Linked DNA regions of Homo sapiens: regions 1, 2, 3 and 5 are each linked to region 4. The links are contacts of gene promoters, found by promoter capture Hi-C in blood cells and fetal thymus (Javierre and others, 2016). All regions are on one chromosome and are shown on one strand. Each heading gives the region's core, a stretch centred on a gene start or on the middle of the fragment in contact. The rest is flanking DNA. Distances are from core to core; before and after follow the strand shown.

Region 1 (2,700 bases), core at 83-2,582, 170 kb before region 4:
GTAGACTATTTTAAGACGCTTTCACATCAAATTTTTAACCCTAACAATGGAATGAAGGGGAGGTAGGGTTAAGAGTTGATTTTTAGATGAGGAGACTTGAATGTGTTTTAGGCTGAGGGGCAGGTGCCATTGAAGAGGTAGAGTTTAAAAGTATAGGAGGGGTGATAGCTGGTGGAGTAAGATTCTGTGAGAAGTACGAGGGACCATGGGAAAGGGAGGGGGGGTCTGCCCCAATATGTAGGCAGCCAGTAGTGCACTAAGGGCAGGAACCCCGAGGTACAATTTTCTTTCTTTTTTTTTTTTTTTGAGACAGAGTCTCACTTCATTGCCCAGGCTGGAGTGCAGTGGTGTGATCTCAGCTCACTGCAACCTCCACTTCCCAGGTTCAAGTGATTCTCCTGCCTCAGCCTCATGAGTAGCTGGAATTACAGGCATATGTCACCATGCCCGGCTAATTTTCATATTTTTAGTAGAGATGGGGTTTCACCATGTTGGCCAGGCTGGTCTCAAACTCCTGACCTTAAGTGATCTGCCCACTTTGGCCTTCCAAAGTGCTGGGATTACAGATGTGAGCTACTGTGCCCAGACACCCCAGGAACAATTTAGTCCCTAGGCCAACAAATAAGTTTTTAGGGAGGAATATTTAATCACTGACATTGTTTATAATCACTGGTACATGAAATTAATAAAAAGTAGACACTGAGTTGGTTTCATGATGGTTTAAAATTCTCTGCAGAAGAGGCACCCACTTATTACCTGCACCTCTTATTTATGTGCACTTCTCGCAATGCTCCCCCACTTTGTGTGCTACTGGAAAACACCTCCTTTGAGATGAGAGGTAAAGACTCATGAGTAGGTATAGAGAAGGGATTCAGTCCTGATGGTTTTTATTTTTTCTGTGTGCTGTAAGATGAAACGCGGGGAATTAGGAGAGTGGAAAAGTGTTAGAGCAGCTACAAGTCATGACACAGTACCAGGGACCTGCGCCTTGGGTGCTAAACGGTCTCACTCCGCCTACAACTCTTCTTTTGTGGGGGCTGCTGCTTACAGTGTCATCAGTGAGAAAAAGCAAGCAGGAGCTTTCTCCTCCCTACTTGATTCATATCCCGTAATAAGGTTAAAGTCCAGCAGGTTTTGCTTGGCACATAGTCAGTCCTCCTGCCTGAAGCAATAAGGCACCAGCAGATTCTCCAGATGCTGTGGCACTGGGAATCTTTCTTCAGAACCTGGAGAAAGTTGAAGAATTGGACAGGAAGGCCAGAAAGAAATTTATCCTTGAGTCATGCTTGCACCTTTGTCAATTTGCACAGGATGAATATCTATTTTGCACACTCTACAGAAAAAATATTTTTTACTATTAAGAGCCTGAAGATTGTGCTTGCATATTGATTTCTTTGACCACCCCCCAGAGCAATCAGCATCAATAACATTGCCCCACCCAACAGAGGATACATGAACACACCCCCAACACATGCACCCATACCCCTGAAAGGACATATGAACCTATTTGCCACTCAGGGTTATTCCAAACCAATAAAAATAAAAGCATACTTCAAATTTCAAGCTACTTTTTGGGTGGATCCCATTTTGGGATTGCCAGTCACTATGTTAAAGGATATAGGGTGATAACTTTTTGGAGCAGTTCTGCAGAGGAGATGACAATTCGGTGCATGGTCAGCATGACTTGCAACAGTTGGTTACTTCGACACAGGTTTCCATCTGCATCTGAAAATATAAAGAGCAGCACCTGAGTTAGGCCCTGGAGGGAAACTAGTCACCTGGTAGACACCTGCAAACCCTCTGTGACTCAGGTGCAATCCTTCAGGCACAGTGATTTTCTTCCACTGCCCCTAGCACAGCCCCCCTCTGTTTTTCTCATCCTCCTGCTACATTCTTCCCTTGCAGAATGTCCATTTTGATGCTCATTAACTACCCCTTTTCCTCTCCACAGTGGTAAAATCGGGAAAGGGATAAAATCTGCATCAGCACACTTGAGTCTCACTGAAAGCAGAAGCAGATCCAGGTTTTGTGGGGCCTAAAGTTCATATAACTGGTTGGGGGGTGGGCAGGGAGAGAATTCTCTGGGGTCAGAGTGAGAAAAGTTGGTTTTTAATAGATTGCAGTTAAAATATCTTACCTTTACAAATTTTACAAAAACAAATGACCATATGAATACATTTCTAGGGCCGTCCCATGGCCTTGGAAGGGGCTCATGCAAGTGAGGAGCCCTGAAATATATGCTTCTCCAGTTTTATGGTTAATATGCCTCTGGATGGAAATAAAAGAAGACTATGGGCAAACATTACATTTTAAGATTGCAAGTGGATTACAAGTACTCATGATGATTTGTATTAAAGAACATGGTTAGCTAGGTTTTCTAAATCCCAGCTGGCACAAAATAATAAGATGCATTTATACACTGGCATTGGGTAAAAAGATTCCCCTTGGAGTGGTTTTCAAAATCTTTTCAACATTTATGGCATGAAGTGTTAGGAGCTCTGCTGGTTATTCTCTGCCAGATCTATTCTTTCACCATGAAAAATATCAGCCCACTCACTTGCCAGCTGGCTTCCAGTTGGGTTTAGCCATTGGGAAGCACCAGCAAGAGACTGGGAGTGGAGGGAAGTCAGGATATTTGTTTTTCATTCCCTCTCTGCATTGACACCACTCCCCTGACAGTGACTACATATCTTTTCAATG
Region 2 (2,700 bases), core at 34-2,533, 220 kb before region 4:
GTAAGGTAAATGAAATGTTGTGTCACTTTAGCCTCTTTATTGCTAACTTGATGTTAAAAAGACTAACTTGTTTTGTCTGTTCTTATTATTGACAAAGTTGAACTGTTTTCATAAGCTTATTAGTCATTTGAATTTCCTCTTTTTAACTTCTATTTATGTCTTGTCATTTTTTTTTCCTGTAAAATTCTGTTTTCTTTTTGTGTTTGAGGTTTTTATATAGAAAGGAAGTTTGCTGGTTGAATTATTTGTTGAAAATATTTTCCCCAGTTGTCATTAGATGTTGTTTTATATCTTTTAAAGTACAGAAATTTTAATTTTTATAATGTAGTTGTTTTTAAATTGAAAATTAAACCTCAAACAGTTAACTTTTTGTTCTCTTTGGAATTCCCTTTGTTATATGGTGTGCTGTATTATTGTTATTATTACAGATAGCCACCAGGTCATTCCAGCACCATTTAAAAGATAATCCTTTCCTTTTCTCGTTGATCTGTGATGTCTCCTTTATCATTTATTGCATTCATAGATTTATGAGGCTCTGAGTCTCAATATACTATTTCATCAATCTATGTTTTTTTCTCCCAAGTTCTAGTTAATTAGATGGAGGTAGGATAGCAAACTGTTATCTATACTAGACCTGTGCTTGGGGGTCAGGTAGACCTTTGTTGCTAAGTGGGCAGAGCTAGGATTCTCTCTATATTTTGGGGAAACTAACTTAAGCTTTCTATGCCTCATTTTTTTTTTCCATCTGCAAAAGGGGATAATAAAAACCAACCACTCTAAAAGGATATTTTGAGGATTAAAGAAATAATGCCTTACTAAGTGAACAGCATCCTGGCACATTTAATAAGTTCTCATTAAATGTTAACTGATAAGATGATGATAATTTTGTATTATAGCATATTAGTATTTGGTAGGATTATATTTCAAAATGCTTTTAGTTATTCTTACATATTGAGTTTCTGGATTTAACTTTAGATTTTTTTTTCATTCTCTCAAAAACTATTTATATAGGATTATAAGTTAATTTGGGGGAAAACTGACAATAATACTTAATGTTCCCATACAGAAACTTGGTATTTCTTACCATTTATACAAGTTTTCCTTTTGTTTTTGCAAGATTTACTGATGTTTCCCTTTTAAATGTCCTGTATGTGGTTTTGGTAAAACTATTTTTTAGGTATTTTTTGTTAATATGTATAGAAATTTTTTTGTTATTATTTTTTAGCGAGTTGTTGCTGGTAGTTACATATTTTTAACACCTGTTGGTCTATTTTATTTGTTCTAAATTATTCATAAATTCTCAGATATTTGGGTGTTTTTGCTCTTTTCTAACTCCTTGCTTATGCATTATCTCCTTTTCTTTATTTCTAAAGATTATGATTGTTTTTGCTCTTTCATTAAAATGTACTTTTGTTCCTTTTTTCCTTAACTCTTGTCATTTAGGTAAAAACAGATGATATAGCAAGAATTTATCAGCCTAAGCGTTATGCTTTGTCACCCAAGACAACGATTACAATGGCACATCTACTTGCTGCTCGTGAAGATCTATCCAAGATCATTAGGACAAGTAGTGGCACCAGCCGGGAGAAGACCGCATGTGCCATTAATAAGGTTGGTGTTTCTTTCAGTACAGTGGAAAATGAATTGATGATATCTTACTTAATGTTTTTACAGATTTTAGTCTATTTTTCTTTCATGTCCTGGTAAATGTTTAGAAAAAAGAGTGGCAGGGGGGTTCAGTCTAGGCTTAGTTATGTTATTTTTGTGTATGTGTGTATGTTCACTTGAATTTGTGTATTCATAAATCAAAGTATTTTCTGAATTAGAGGAATTATGAATTGTTTTTGTCAAAGCTTTAGCAAGAATTATGTTCCATCTTTCTAAAAAGTAATCATTTTTTGTCAGTAAGAATCTTTCGGAATTGTTTCAAGTACTGACAGATTCGTTATATCCTTGGTGTAAAGGGAAGAAGAGTTTGTGCTTTAGAGTCAGACCAATCTGGGTTCCCATCCTGGCTCTGTCATTTACTTACAGAAATGACCCTGAGCAAGCTACTGAACTTCTTTGAGCTTCTGTTTCCTGATTTGGAGTATACATCCATTTCTCTGACAGTAGTCTATTTAAACAAGCTCAAGGAGTCTGAATTTTTCACTTTACAACAGCAATAACAATAAAGTAATTTAGTATGTTTATGTCAGCTTAACTGGCATGTCCTCTTCATTTAGGTAGAGCACTCCATGGCAAACTTTATTACAAAAGAGCAAAAAATCAGAAATAAGGGATTTGGATAATTTTAAAGCATCGCTTCTCACTCAGTGTAACTTGAGATAAAATACCTTTTCAGAGGGATGGTTGTTTTTAAAGTCATTTTGCTAACTATTGCTAAGTTAGGCATCACCAGTGTTTGCCTCTGTGCTTCCACTGTGGCTCAATCCTATGTTCTGAAAGTGTTCTCTCTTTAAATATATTACCTAACATCTTGCATTGGGTGATAATTTAGTCTTGCTGGATCAAGAGTTCTATTTCTGTAAGTAACATTGGCCATCTCTTCTGAGTTTATAATTTATGGTCTCATTATTTGAGGGTAGTCTTATGATCAGTTCTGGCATCTCCATATGCCCACCAACATACCATGTTTGGTAGAGAGACCAGTGAGAATAATAACCAAGAAAGGCTGTTTTTTGGATTTGGTAGTTAGGA
Region 3 (2,700 bases), core at 100-2,599, 230 kb before region 4:
AATAGTAAAGTAAAATAAATAAAATAGGTTTAGATTAAAATGATCTAATAGATTCTTTTCAACTTTAGCTTTTTTAAATTTGTAATTTGTGTCTGTGCTTTTTTCACCATATTTTTATTGTAATTAATATAAGGCTATTAGACTTTATGCTGTATTTGACTTTGTGATACCTGTGGTATTTATCTGAAAATTGGTAGATAATTTTACTGTAAAATGTTAAAACATAGGAAAAAAGCCAAATGTTAATTATATAGAGCAGGAATCAGCAAACCATTTCTTTAGAAGGCCATGTAGTCATCATTTTCGGTTACAAATACTTAGCTCTTCCATTGTAGTGTGGAAACAGCCGTAGCCAATTTGTAGATTAATACATTTAATGGCTGTGTTCCAATAACATTTTATTTACAAAAACAAGCAGCAGACCTTGACACAGAGTGTTGGAGGTTTTTTTGTTTGATTGGCTTATTTAGTTTTTAACTTGTATTTCTTCCTTTCTAGGTATAAAGGACCATTGTTAGAAGAGCAAGCCCTTACAAAGGCGGCAGAGGGTGGATTATCTTCACCTGAATTTTCAGAGCTCTGTATTTGGTTAGGCTCTCAAATAAAATCATTATGCAACTTGGAAGAAAGTATCACGTCTGCTGGTATTGCCATTATGTTGTATTTACTTTTCTGTTTAATAGTAAACTGATAACTTACGGTTTATAGTTTTATCAATAATGTGCCCACTGTACAAAGAAAAATCACATATTCCAAAGAATTTCAGTATGTGGTAGTAAACATTTTTGGATTAAATTTTATATTAATCCAGAATTGATATTTAAATTTGCTATAAAACTATAAGCAATTACTATTTATCTGCTATTTTTTTCTCTTCCTGACGGCTCTGATATCTGCTGTCTAAACCTTAGTATTGTTTTTTAGAAAAAGTAGGGTCTGAATTTGATTATTTAAAAGTTTAATTTTTGAATGGTGCTCATGTTGAATTAAGGCTTAAAATATTATATATATATAATTCCTAATTTGTGTTCTGAAGCTTGTAGCTCAGGATATGGATTCACATAGGAATACTTCTATTAAAAACTTCTGTACTAGCTCATAAAGCTTCTTTAGTTCATTACCATCTTAGTAACTGGAGTCCTGTGGGTCTTTGGTAGAATTTCGGATATTAATAGTATAATAAAAAGAAAAATTAAAAATTGTGCATTCACAAAAGTAGCTTTTTCTTTGAAAAGTATCCTTTTTTTCTTAAGAGATGGGGTCTTGTTATGTTGCACAGACTGGACTTGAACTCCTGGGCTCAAGCAACCCTCTCACCCCACCCTCCCAAGTAGTTGAAACTGCAGGTGTGGGCTACCGCACCCAGCCAGATCTAACAGTTCACTTGACGCAAAGTAAACTAATTTGAATTCTAAACATATAACACGACTGCCTACATAATTACATTATGAAATAAAGATAAGCAGTGAGGGTTAATTAGATGGTTGCATTTATTTTCTGAATATATAGAAATATAGTAGAAATGGATCATTTGCTCTGAAGTGAATTAATAATTATAGCCATAATAATGCTTTTACTATTTCAGTTGTTAACGTAAGCTTCGTGATCACACATTTAAGGATTTAATGTGAAAATTTAGAATTGAATGTAAAATGGAAATAAACGAGTAGATTTTATAGTATTGGATTATATGGTAAATGCTCAGTAAATGTTTTATGATTTTTCTTTTTTAAAGGAAGAGATGATCTAGAGAGCTTCCAGCTTGAGATAAGTGGCTTTTTAAAAGAAATGGCATGTCCATATTCTGTACTCATATCAGGAGATATTAAAGATCGTTTAAAAAAGAAGGAGGACTGTTTGAAACTTCTATGTAAGTTATCTTGAACATTTAAATGCATGTGTTTGACATGGTTTTTATTATTTTCAAGTCAAGATTTATTAATGAAGCATTAGACATTTTGTATATTAAAAGGGTTTTAATATTTTACTTAAAATACAAAGCTATCTCAGAAATGTTTATATAATATAGTATAAATTTTACCAGTATGCCTTCTAACACTTGTGATTTATTTGGCCAATATAGAATGTCCTGTGTTTGTGATTTATATAGTACTTTAGTAATTTTTCCTTTATCTCATTCTATCTGTTATTGTTCGTGACTATATGGCTAACATTGATGATCTCCAAAGTCCTATTTAATCTAAAAACTCTCTGAAACTAGGCACTGGATGATAATTTGTTGATCACTTACTCTAACACCAAGAACTGCTCTGGATACTAGGGATATATGAGGGTTGCTTGTTTTGTTTTTTTTTAAAAAATATAAAATTTGTGCCTTTAGGACACTTTAAATGTGGCCAGTTTCATCAGGGAGGGATTTGGAATATAGGTCATACTGTATTCAAACAATTACCATAAATAGTAGGTCCATGTTTGTGTTGGGTTCCTTTCATCATTTTTTTACTTTAGGCTAATTTTATAATGTTTTTAAAGTTCTACAAACAATGACTATTTGAAAGAATTTTTCTAATACCTTCTATTATTGAAGATTTCTATTTCAGATCATGCCATTTATAAAAAGATTACACGTGACATATTCCTCCTAGGCGCTAGTGTTTTAATAAAGTTTGTTTCATTAGAGATGAAATTTGTGTGTGTGTGTGTGTGTGTGTGTGTGTGTGTGTGTTTAGTGGTGACAAA
Region 4 (2,701 bases), core at 137-2,636:
CTGTAGAACCCACTGAGGCAGAAATGTGGGAACTTGGTAGGAAAACATAAAGATGACAGCATGTTGGATACTTCAAGAAGGTACAAGGTCCTTTCCACGGAAGTTTTGCTAAAAGTGGATCAGGAACAAGAGGTGAATTATGTAACTTTGCTTCAGAAGCCACATCTACCTGTAATCAGCCATCAGAGGCTGAGGAAGGTCAGATTATCTTGTGTCTTCCTTATCATCGCCATCACTATCAGCAGCAGCAGCAGCAGCAGCAGCAGCAGCAGCAGAGTTCTCTGTCACACTCTATTACTAAAGCTAAAGATTGCATGTGATTATAGATATTTATTATTCTGGTCATTGTCATGGTGATCTTTGCGGAAAGATATTAGAGGAAAACTCCCTCCTAGTCATATCTGGAGGCCAATGTCCTTAAACAGAAAACTGGGGTCATACCCTGTAAAACCTATCAGACCAAGTAATCCAGAGCTGGGATGGGGGCAGGATCTCTTTAGAGTAAGACTTGCCTTCCAAGCCACATAACTGTCATCTGGAGCTTGTCACTGCTGACAATTTTCCTCCTTGCTGCCAGCTTGCTCTGTATCACGCAGGGCTATCATCAGTAACTTAGCCCTAAGAGGGGTACAGGAAAGATTAAAAAAAGGAATGCTATATTTGTGGGGGAATCATTCTCTAAAAGTCTCCCTTGCCAGCAAATTTTAAGTGGTAGGAGCAGTGGTTGTCACCACAGCTGGCACTTTGGGTTTTGTGGTGTGAAGCAAAGGCTTTTTAACTGAGAGAGGACTGGTGCCCATTCCTGGTGGCAGCTCCTGCCACTGGAAGCCTGGTTGGCCAGAATGTGATGCTGTGATGGGGACTGCATCTGGATCCCAGCTGTCAGGACCTGGCTTCCAGATCTGAATTCTAGAGCAGAGGGAGGGAAGGCAGAACACCTACCAGCACACTAATGTTTCAAGTTTGGCCTAGAGCAAAGAGCCTGAGTTGCTGTTGGCCAAACGTTGGCCTGTGTTTGTCAGACTGGGCTGAAGACTTCCTCCCTGGTCTATCCTTCACCTCTTATGCCACAGTTTTGGGAAACACTGTGCTCAGCAAGCTGAACTGCTTCTTGGGTGTGCGACTAGGGTGCCAGCCAGGCCAGGGACGTCCAGGACTGGAAGAAATGCAGGGGCAGGACCACAGCACAGGCTGATCAGGAGGCTGCCCCACCAGGAGCTCTGCTGAAGGCTGCATCCTCTCTGCTGAGAGTCAACCACTGTGCTGACTCACCATCCTTGTGGTTGAGAACCCATCAGCAAATTGGTGGCTCTGATGAGCCCTGGAGCTGCAAAATATAGGCCGGGGTACCTCAGCCGGAAGGGACTTCAGTTAGTGACAGGTTTTCTGTTCTGATATGGAGCTACAAGGGGCCCAAGAGGACCTGGGCATTTCCCTCTCTAGTCCCCGGAGGAACCATGAAACCAGGCCAGGAAGCAAGGCTAAGGGCAGGAGCAGCATCTGTCTCCAGGCGTCTGTTTGGATGGCTGTAAGTCCCACCTTGCTCTGTTTTTTTCTGCTATGGCTGAACCTGGATCTAGCAGGGTTCTCAGTTTCTGCTATGGCTGAACCTGGATCTCAGTCCCCTGGTGAGCTTAGCTCCTGCCTCCCAGAGAACTGGAATGACCTTATTCAGACACCTCCAGCCTGTATAAGTCAGGGGCAAGGACTGGGGAGTCAAGAGGGTTAAGGGAGTGAGAGGTGAGAGTTACAATCTACATTGTATTTTATGTCAACAGCATCCCCTGGAGTACTGCAAAGCTCTAAGTCAGATATCCCAGTGGGGGGCATCACCCATCCTAGACTTTCTCCCCTGCCCCATGCCCCTTATACCAACATCAATTCAGCACATAGCACTGTACTTGGCCATTAAGATAGTAAATAAATGCCTGGTGAATAGTTTGATAGACAGAAAGATGCCCACTCCCCCAACCCAAAGATGTTTACATTCTCATTCCTAGAAACTGTAAATATGTTATCTTAATAGCAAACAGGATTTTGCAAGTGTGGTTAACATTAAGGATCTTGAGATAAAGAGATTATCCTGGATTATCCGAATGGGCCTAATCTAATCCTAAAAAGCAGACAGGCTTCCCTGGGTGCAGTCAGAGACAGAAATGCAGCTAGGGGAATTGGAGTCAAAGAGAGGGCCATGAGAGAAGGATTCCATGCCCTGTGGCTGGTTCTGAGAGGTAGGGACTCTATGTAAGGACAGAGCAAATGTCTTCTAGGAGTTCAGGGTGGCCCCAGTTAGCAACCAGCAAGGACCTCAGTCTTACAGTCCCACGGAACTGTCAAGACCAGAATGAGCAAAGATAGTGATGCACCCCCAGAGCTGCCACCAAGGAACGCTGTCCTGCCGAGACGTTGATTTTAGTCCTATGAGACCCATAGGACTTCTGGCCCATAGAACTAAATGATAGTGTGTGTTTTAAGCTGCTAAAGTTTTGGTAATTTATTATAGTAGCAACCGATAATAGAAATGGCTATAAAATGGAATGTATTTTGTAACTGAACATAATTTTCTTGCCTCTGGTGTCCCTAATTTCCTTGGTGGCTGGCAGTCATAGAGAAGTCCTTTTCCATGGTTAGCTGTGTGCCAGTGACGGGGAGGGCATCCTTACTCTGGTCTCAAGTGCTTCTTGGCACCCCTGGGTTTACT
Region 5 (2,700 bases), core at 26-2,525, 250 kb before region 4:
GCACTTTTTTGACTTGCATTTTTCACTCATTACAATTATTTTGGGATTTAACCATATTGTTATGTATATCATTGATTTATTTCTTTTATTGCTGAGCAGTATTCTACTATATGGAAATACCAGAATATGTTTACTCATTTCATACACATGTTGATGGTCATTTGGTTTATTTATAGTTTGGGTAAACATAATGCTATAAACATTAACATACAAGTATTTTGTCTGGATGTACGCTTGCCTTTCTCTTGGGTACATGGTATTGGAATGTAGAGTTATATAGTAGATATATGTTCAACATTTTAAGAAGCCATTATACTGTATTCCAAAGTATTGCATGATTTTACATTCCTACCAGTGGTATGTGAGAGTGTAGGTTGCTCCATGTCTTCCTCACACTTGGTATGGTCAGATTTTAAAATTTCAGCCATTGACCAGGTGTGGTTGCTCACACCTGTAATCCCAAGCACTCTGGGAGGCCAAGGCAGGCAGATCACTTGAGGTTAGGAGTTCGAAACCAGCCTGGCCAACATGGTGAAACCCCTTCTCTACTAAAATTGCAAAAATTAGCTGGGCATGCTGGTGCGTGCCTGTAATCCCAGCTGCCTGGGAGGCTGAGGTGGGAGAATCGCTTGAATCTGGGAGGCAGACGTTGCAGTGAGCCAGATGGCGCCACTGCACTCCAGCCTGTACAACAGAGTGAGACCCTGTCTCAAAAAAATAACAAAAAACAAAACAAAACAAAAGAAAAAATTCAGCCCCTATAAGTATATGGTGATATTTCATTGTGATTTAAGTTTGCATTTATGACAAATTGAACATAGTTGTATGTACTTATCTTTCATCCACATATCTTCTTTGGTGAGGTATCTGTTCAAATCTTTTGCTCATTTTTTAAAGTTGGGTTGTTTGTTTTCTTATTTTTGAGTTTTAGGATTTATTTATGGATTCTTGATACAAGTCTTTTATCAGATATGAGTTGCAAATATTTTCTCAGGCTTGTGGCTTGCTTTTCATTCACTTAATGGTGTCTTTTGGAGAGCAAAAGTTTTTAATTTTCATCAAGTGTAATTTATCAATTTTTTATCTTACAGATTTTGTATTTGGTATCTTGTTTCAGAAATCTTTGCCTAACCCAAGACTAACAGATTTTCTCCTATGTTTTCTTCTAGAAGTTTTCTTTTTGTTAACCATTATATTTAGTTTACTGACCCATTTTAAGTTAAATTTTGTATATGTCAAAGTTATGTATGGCTTCTTACTGGGGAGAAAAATCTTTTAAGGGGGTATTTTGGTAGAGAAAATGCAATGTCTTCATCAACCGTTTGTTTTTCCTTCTAGGCACACAGCCTAGACTATTTCCCAGCATCTCTGCAGTTAGGTTAGGGTAGTATGACTTAGTTTTAATTTGTGCAAGGTGGACAGAATTAATGTGCTTTCTTCTAGACCATACTGTACAACTCTTTGTATAATCCTCCACATTCTTCATATCCGTTTTCTATGCTAACTTTGGTTGCCATGTGTCCAAAGTAGCTGAGTCACAAAAAAGATGTTAGGTTCCTAAACTGCCACATGAAGGGCCATTGTTCTGATTATTTAATGCTGCACAATAAACCACACCAAAAGTTAGTGGCTCATACAACAGTCTTTTATTAGATCTTATGACTCTCTGAGTTGACTGGGCTCAGCTAGTGGCTCTTGCTTGAGATCTCTCTTGCAATTGAGGGCACTTGTTGGATAGTACAGATGGCTGCAGTCATCTGATGGCTCAACTGGGTGAGTGACCAAGAAGGTCCACTCACATGGATAGCAGATAATGCTGGCTATGTGCTGGAAACCCAACTGGGATGTCAACTGGAGGGCTTACACTTGGCTTCTCCATGTAGCATGAAATTCTCTTAGTCTGGTGGTTGGGTTCCAAGAGGAAGAGCCCCATACATGTGCATTCCAAGAGTCAAGAATTGGAAGCAGTTAAGACTATGCCTGGAGTGGCATAACATCATTTCCTGCATATTTTATTGATCAAAGTAGTGACAGGCCCTTCCTTTATTCAATGGGAATATAAACTGTATATCTTGATGGGGGAGTAGTAAAGTCACATTGTAAAAGAACATAACGTATTGATGGCATTGTCATGATCATCTTTAAAAATACAATATGCCATACTCTCCCACCAAACACTTGACTGTACTATGGCATAGGTGAGGTAAAAACTTACATTATCCTAACCCCATGAGATTTGAAGGTTTGTTACAGCACTTAGTTTATCCTGACTACCATACATAATAGTGCATCCACTGAGAGAACCACCCTCTTGCCTCCTGGATTATCAGTAATGCCTCCTCTCGGCTTGGATAAGGAAACAGTACTTTATTTTCACGATGAGGATACCAACATTTTAAGCAGAATACTTAGTCCTAGGTGTAATGAGGTACCTGCTATATTCACTCACAAGGACATTTGGTATACCAAGCTCCAGCTGCCAAGTTAAAGGTCTGGCTCAACTTCCACTGGGAAATAATCACCTTACAGGCAGTGTCATTTCACAAGCAGAACTTCCCACCTCCAGACTTCTGGTTGGTTCAAGTGGGAGATCCACCTCAAATCCTGAGTTCTATTTTGCACATTTCAGAATCTTATTTCAAATTCCAAGGTTTTTTCCACATAGACTTAACTCTATTTCAAGGATCGCATATATTCAAA

The links. The method cuts DNA at HindIII sites, captures the fragments that hold promoters and counts their contacts. A CHiCAGO score of 5 or more calls a contact.
Region 1: a contact is called between a fragment that was not itself captured here and the fragment with the promoter of LINC02694 in region 4, in 9 of 17 cell types (activated CD4 T cells, naive CD4 T cells, total CD8 T cells and 6 more). The highest score is 34.0, in activated CD4 T cells.
Region 2: a fragment that was not itself captured here is called in contact with the fragment with the promoter of LINC02694 in region 4 in 16 of 17 cell types (naive CD8 T cells, total CD4 T cells, naive B cells and 13 more); the score reaches 48.2 in naive CD8 T cells.
Region 3: a contact is called between a fragment that was not itself captured here and the fragment with the promoter of LINC02694 in region 4, in 16 of 17 cell types (activated CD4 T cells, non-activated CD4 T cells, naive CD8 T cells and 13 more). The highest score is 75.8, in activated CD4 T cells.
Region 5: a fragment that was not itself captured here is called in contact with the fragment with the promoter of LINC02694 in region 4 in 13 of 17 cell types (activated CD4 T cells, naive B cells, total B cells and 10 more); the score reaches 24.1 in activated CD4 T cells.

What each region holds. Positions count from the first base shown.
Region 1 is chr15:38,524,680-38,527,379 of GRCh38, forward strand. RASGRP1 (RAS guanyl releasing protein 1) reads right to left here. Exons shown (of 17, transcript NM_005739.4): 3 at 1,620-1,725. Among named protein-coding and RNA genes, the nearest start is that of RASGRP1, 39 kb to the right of the region's middle. The HindIII fragment of the contact is 5,208 bases long and covers 1-2,700 here.
Region 2 is chr15:38,479,849-38,482,548 of GRCh38, forward strand. FAM98B (family with sequence similarity 98 member B) reads left to right here. Exons shown (of 8, transcript NM_173611.4): 7 at 1,444-1,611. Among named protein-coding and RNA genes, the nearest start is that of FAM98B, 27 kb to the left of the region's middle. The HindIII fragment of the contact is 1,136 bases long and covers 716-1,851 here.
Region 3 is chr15:38,463,534-38,466,233 of GRCh38, forward strand. It overlaps FAM98B (family with sequence similarity 98 member B), which reads left to right. Exons shown (of 8, transcript NM_173611.4): 2 at 499-644; 3 at 1,736-1,870. Among named protein-coding and RNA genes, the nearest start is that of FAM98B, 11 kb to the left of the region's middle. The HindIII fragment of the contact is 494 bases long and covers 1,103-1,596 here.
Region 4 is chr15:38,695,212-38,697,912 of GRCh38, forward strand. It overlaps LINC02694 (long intergenic non-protein coding RNA 2694), which reads left to right and starts at 1,387. Exons shown (of 2, transcript NR_160786.1): 1 at 1,387-1,528. RefSeq lists an enhancer at 1,497-1,546. The HindIII fragment of the contact is 8,690 bases long and covers 1-2,701 here.
Region 5 is chr15:38,443,236-38,445,935 of GRCh38, forward strand. No RefSeq gene overlaps it. Among named protein-coding and RNA genes, the nearest start is that of FAM98B, 9.5 kb to the right of the region's middle. The HindIII fragment of the contact is 5,806 bases long and covers 1-2,700 here.